2 separate regions of the Homo sapiens genome follow, and region 1 is linked to region 2. The links are contacts of gene promoters, found by promoter capture Hi-C in blood cells and fetal thymus (Javierre and others, 2016). All regions are on one chromosome and are shown on one strand. The core of a region is centred on a gene start or on the middle of the fragment in contact, and the rest is flanking DNA. Distances in the headings are between cores, read along the strand shown. Region 1 overlaps RAB27A (RAB27A, member RAS oncogene family). Region 2 holds the start of MAPK6 (mitogen-activated protein kinase 6).

The links. Contacts are between HindIII fragments. The CHiCAGO score rates a contact against its expected background, and 5 or more counts as called.
Region 1: a contact is called between a fragment that was not itself captured here and the fragment with the promoter of MAPK6 in region 2, in 1 of 17 cell types (total CD8 T cells). The highest score is 5.9, in total CD8 T cells.

Annotation. Positions count from the first base shown.
Region 1 is chr15:55,265,360-55,268,059 of GRCh38, reverse strand. The region is part of intron 2 of RAB27A (RAB27A, member RAS oncogene family); the gene reads left to right. Among named protein-coding and RNA genes, the nearest start is that of RAB27A, 23 kb to the left of the region's middle. The HindIII fragment of the contact is 4,044 bases long and covers 1-2,700 here.
Region 2 is chr15:52,017,785-52,020,484 of GRCh38, reverse strand. It overlaps MAPK6 (mitogen-activated protein kinase 6), which reads right to left and starts at 1,266. Exons shown (of 6, transcript NM_002748.4): 1 at 1,109-1,266. MAPK6-DT (MAPK6 divergent transcript) reads left to right here and starts at 1,390. Exons shown (of 2, transcript NR_156732.1): 1 at 1,390-1,786. RefSeq lists enhancers at 206-255, 1,596-1,665 and silencers at 506-1,015, 1,316-1,425. The HindIII fragment of the contact is 8,244 bases long and covers 344-2,700 here.

The DNA.
Region 1 (2,700 bases), core at 54-2,553, 3.2 Mb before region 2:
CTTGGCTGCTCTCTCTGTCTCTTACCACTTTCTCCTTGTCACTTGTTGAAATAGTTAAGTCACAGAGGTATGACCCTGCAGCCATAAGAATACAAACAACCATTTTTCTTCTTTCTTGGTGCTTCTGCTGCCCACAAGACAGGAACTGTGGCAGAAAGGGAACGGTCTGGTGAAATCTTGCTGGCTGGCAGGATGGCGTCACGGCAACTAGGCTGCCTCTCTCTGCGGCTGTTTCAGCTTCCGCCCTCTCTGGACCCTCGGTACCTGAGTGCTCATAGGGGAAACTGTCTTCTTCCTGCCTCCATTTCTGTTTTTCCTCAGTAGGATTAAGGCTTCTTGAGATATCTGCTCATCTTTTGCTATTATTCCTTTCTTCTCCCTTTGAACTTGTTTGATTTAGAGCCAGAGCTCAGGCTATAGCATACGTGATAGCTGATGAGTCATGTGAAGCCCATTAAAAGCAAAAGCTGATTATCACAAGAACCATTATTTATTTGCGCTGTCTATGCAACAGCACATTTTCTTTTGCGCTTCTGGTGTTGCTGCAGCGTGGCTGGGGCCCTGCCCTCTTGGCAGAGCAGAGGTCCTGTGGTGTAGGCTGGGGGGCAGGTAGGGGAAGTGGGTGATGGATGAGATGGGGTGCTGCTTGAGAAATGAGCTATCTTTGCTGCTGCTTCTCTGAAGGCAGAATCTGCTTTGCTCAAACACGGGTATAAATCATCCTTTCAAGAGCTGAGAGCATCCATTTTTGTTTGTTTTTCTTGTTTTCCCCGTTTCATACCCTATCAGGCCTCCTTTCTTGATGACATAGTCTAAGCTGGAATCTTTTAGCTATCTTTTAGCTAGATGGTAAATCCAGCAAATAGCTCAATGATAAGTCCATTCATCCAGCAAACAGTGAATGGATTTGCCATTTTCACACGGAGAAGGCCCAGACCACTTCAAGTTTGTACCTCTGTGGTGTGGCAACTGAGCCAGCCTGTGGACAATCACTGCTTGAAAAATCTCCTTCCTAGTGTCCTTCTTGTATCTGTCTTGCTGCTCCTTACATTTTTGTTCTCTCTTCACTCTAAATGTCCATCTCATTTTTCCCATGGCCTAAGGAAATACTATTATGTTGATGACACTAAAATTCATAGCCATATTCTTCTTGTGAGCCCTAGGTCTGTTTTCCAAATGCAAATTAAACACAACTCCCTTGATGTCCCTCAGACATGAGAGATGTTTAACTGGTTGTGTACCGTACAGTGTAATGTGGTAGTTGAGAGTGTGTCTGAGATCACATCTTGGTTCTGCCATTTCTGGCTGTGTGACCTTGGGCAACTTTATTAACCTTTCTGTGCATTGGTATTTTTCATCTGTAGATTTAGGGACCTTATACGGTTGTTGTGAAGACTAAATGAGTTAGTGCTTTAAAGGATTTAGAATAGTGCTTAGTGTTAGTTATAATAATTATCATCTTCTCAAACCATCTTTTCCTTTTTCAGTTAATGTTATACCATTTATTTACCAAACTAAAAGTTTTGGTTATCTTTAATTTCTATACTAGTCTGTTAAGAAGTTATATTGATTTCTACCTCCTAAATATATCTCAAATTAATCACTTCTTCTTCATCCCTACTGTCACCAACACAATTCAAACCCTCAAAATCTCTCTCCATATGTCTTAACCAGTTCAAACTGTTATAACAAAGTACCATAGACTGGATAGCTTGCAAACAACGGAAATTTATTCCTCATTGTTCTAGAGGCTGAAAGTCTGAGATCAGGGTATCAGCATGCTCAGATTTTGGTGAGAGCTCTCTTCCAGGTTGCAGACACTTGACTTTTCACTGTATTCTCACAAGGCAGAAAGGTAGCTCTCTGGCCTCTTCTTATAGGGGCACTAATCCCCTTCATGAAGGATCTATCCTCAAAACCTAATTACTTCCCAAAGACCTGCCTCCTTATACCATCACATTGGGGATTAGATTTCAACATACAAATTTTGGGGAGACACAAACATTCAGTCGGTAACATTAGAGCCTTCTGATGCTCTGTGTATTTCCAGTCTCCATGTGGCTGCCATAGAGATCTTTCTAAGGCACACATCTCATGGTCCTCTCCTGCATAAAGAGCCCGTGGTGGCCTTCTGTTGCCCAGAGGATAACACACAAACTTTTTAGTGCCATGTCACAGTCCTTTTAGACCCAGGTCTCAAACACTTTCCCATGTTTTCAGCCTCTGTTCTGGATACATTCTCCCCTACCTCCATGCATCCCTTCAGCCACATCCACTGCTGAAGTCCTTTAATGCATCCTAAGTAACCTTAGCCTCTTACACCTTTGCAAGCGCAAACCCTCAAACCCTTACCTGCCCGCATCAGTCAGCCCAAGATGTGTTCCCTCCTGACGGTTCGAAACCTGGTCTTTTTTTTTTTTTTAATTTTGAGCATCAGGCATTCCTTACCAAATTCCATCAAAACTCAGTTACATGTTTTGGATTGGCATCAAGAATTATTTGCTTATAGTTTCTGTTATCTTGAAAGGATAATGCTTATTTGGCTGACATGTGAGGTAAAGTCGTTCCCCACATTATCTAGTGCACTGTGTAATTTTTGTCCATTCACATCTGTCACTTGTCCTTATGTGTGCCTGTACACTCACATTCTGACTTTAGTCCTTAGCTCAGATGCCCCTGTGTGAAGTTTTTCTGATTCCC
Region 2 (2,700 bases), core at 17-2,516:
TCATCTGTATCCGTTAAAAAAAAAAAAGTCATTACTGAGACTGCATCTTTAGCAATGAACACGAATTCTGCCGTTAATACAAGTAGGCTTCTAATTCCAACTCACCAGTCCCTTTCACTGGACCTTTTCCAATGAACAAGCAAAAGAAAAAATAAAACAGGAAAGGAATCAAGAAGCTCCCGCTGCACAGAGATCCCCCTAACACCTAAACCGGTTGGGTCCTACACTCGCCAAGAAACAAAAGGATGCCAAAACACCTTTACTTTTCGACACAACTCACAAGGCGGACTAAAATGCACAGCAAAGTGACAAGGCCCTTTTTGGTGAACCGACAAAACAAGCTTTCATTTGGGCACTTTTACAGACCACCACTTAAGGTCCCGAAAGAAGCTAAGGAAAGACTGTAGGGCCGAGGGAGGAAATTAGGAATTTCGTCTCCGAGTTTTCAGTACCTCATTCATGGCAAGACTCAAAACTTGGGCGGACTTCAGGGCTCTGAGACGAGCCGGGTGAGCGCTGCGCGCTACGCCACTGGAGACTTTGCCCGGCCGGAGTCAGCTGAGGCCGAGTCACCGGGTGGGATGGGGGAGGAGACGCGGGAGCATTTCGAAAGGCAGCGTGCCAGTAAGGCGAGACTCCACGCCACCTCATGTTCCCCGGGCCGCCGCCCCTCGCTCGCCCGCCCTCCGGTCCGGTCCGGCTGGGTTTCGAACCCGCGGAGCCAGGCGCAGGCGGCGGGACGGCAGCAGGCGTGCGGGGCCAGGGAGCGGGCGCGGCCTGGCAGGGCGACCGGCGAGGGGCGTGCCGGGTGGGAGGGGCGCGCTGGCCGCCTGGCCGGCCCCACGCGGGGACCCCAGCCCGCCGCCCGCCCGCCCGCGCGGGGACGCGCCGGCCAGGCCCGAGCGGGCGGGCAGGCGGGCGAGCAGGGGGCGGGCGGCAGACCGAACAAAAACGCCTTTGTTGAGCGGCAGCCGCCGGAGGGTCACACACAATGGAGGAGGGAGCCGGCTCCGCCGTCGCCGCCGCCGCCGCCGCCGCCGGGCCCGCCGCGGCGCCCTCCCGAGCCGCCCCGCCGGCGCACCCCGCACACGTACACACACACACTCACGGGACTTCTCCGACTCATCGAGAGAGTGCGGGGCTCGCGGACTGCCCCCAGTGTCGGCTCAGGTCTCCGGCTGTGCTGGCGGCAGCGGCGTCTCCGAGGCTCTCGCTTTGCCGCAGTCGCCGCCATGTAACCCCGACCCGCGAGAGAGGGCGAGGAAGAGGGGGCGGGGCTTCGCGGTGCCACGCCCCCTCACGTCACAGGCTCACTCCACGGGTTCTCCCGCCCCCGCCCTGCCCAGCGCACCCGCACGCGCCGGAATTTCCAGCGCCCGTGACTGGGCTGCGCGCGCCGCGGAGGCGGTGGGAAAGGCACGCGGCTCGTCCGGCGTCTCCTGGGGGCTTTGCCTGCGGGCGGGCAGGGAGGAAGACAGCTGGGGCCGTTTGCTCTACTACCTGCCCTGGCATTAAGGGAACAAAGTGACCAAACCCAGTGCCAGCGTTTACTAAGCACCTACTACGTGCAAGGCACTGGGCAATCCGAGAGGAAGAGGCCTCAGTCTCCAGGAAGGGTGGACCTTAAGATGGATTGGCTGGAAGGCGACAGCCCGAGCACAAGACAGACGCGTTAGAGGCCAATACTAAGGTCATTCATTCTGCCAGAGTATGGAGGAAGGCTTTCAGGAGTGGTCGCCAAGGTGGCCTTTCAGCTGGATCCCGGAGGAGCGGATATAACCAGGAGGTGGGGAGGGTGTTTCTGTGAGCAAAGACTGGGAGGCCAGAGTACCTGGCTTGTTGCAGGAACTGGGATAGGACAATTTGAATTTGGGAAGGGATGCACTATGAAACGTAGAAAGGTGGATGGGTGCCTTCTTGGGCCCACTTGGCTAAAAGCAAACTTACATTACTTATCATGGCTTATTGAGTCCAAGGAGCCTTTTCAGTGTTTATGTGAAATTTAAGTATTTATGAAATTAGAGACGCAGGTCAGCATATTTTTTCAATGACTTCATCACCATCTTGCTGAGAACCAGACATAGAATAGCCCTTCTAGTCATTATTATGGGCATCTTCAAGAAAGAGGCAAAGACCACTTCAAAAAGATCACAAAGGGCCAGGCGTGGTGGTTCACGCCTGTAATCCTAGCACTTTGGGAGGCCGAGACGGGCAGATCACCTGAGGCCAGGAGTTCGAGACCAGCATGGCCAACATGGTGAAAGCCCCGTCTCCACTAAAAATACAAAAAGTAGCCGGGTGTGGTGGCTCACACCTGTAATCCCAGCTACTCGGGAGGCTGAGGCAGGAGAATAGCTTGAACCCCGCGGGGGGTTGCAGTGAGCCGAGATCGCGCCAGGACACTCCAGCCTGGGCGAAAGGGCGAAACTCTGTCTCAAAAAAAAAAATCACAGAGTAATGAAGTTAAGTGGTTGGGGTGAGCTTGAATGCTTTATATTTTTTAATATTTAAAACAACGTCAGCTGAGTACCAGGTGTGAAGAAGAGGTAATGAGTGAAAAAAACCAAGAGAAAGGGGAGACTTGTTCCAACCGCAGAATTTCCAGCTTCTGCAACGAGAGCTCGTACCTTCAGCCCCACTGCCTCTGCTCTAGGCTCTCCTCTGATCCTCAGGACATTTTTCCTCTCACTCTTTGAGAAC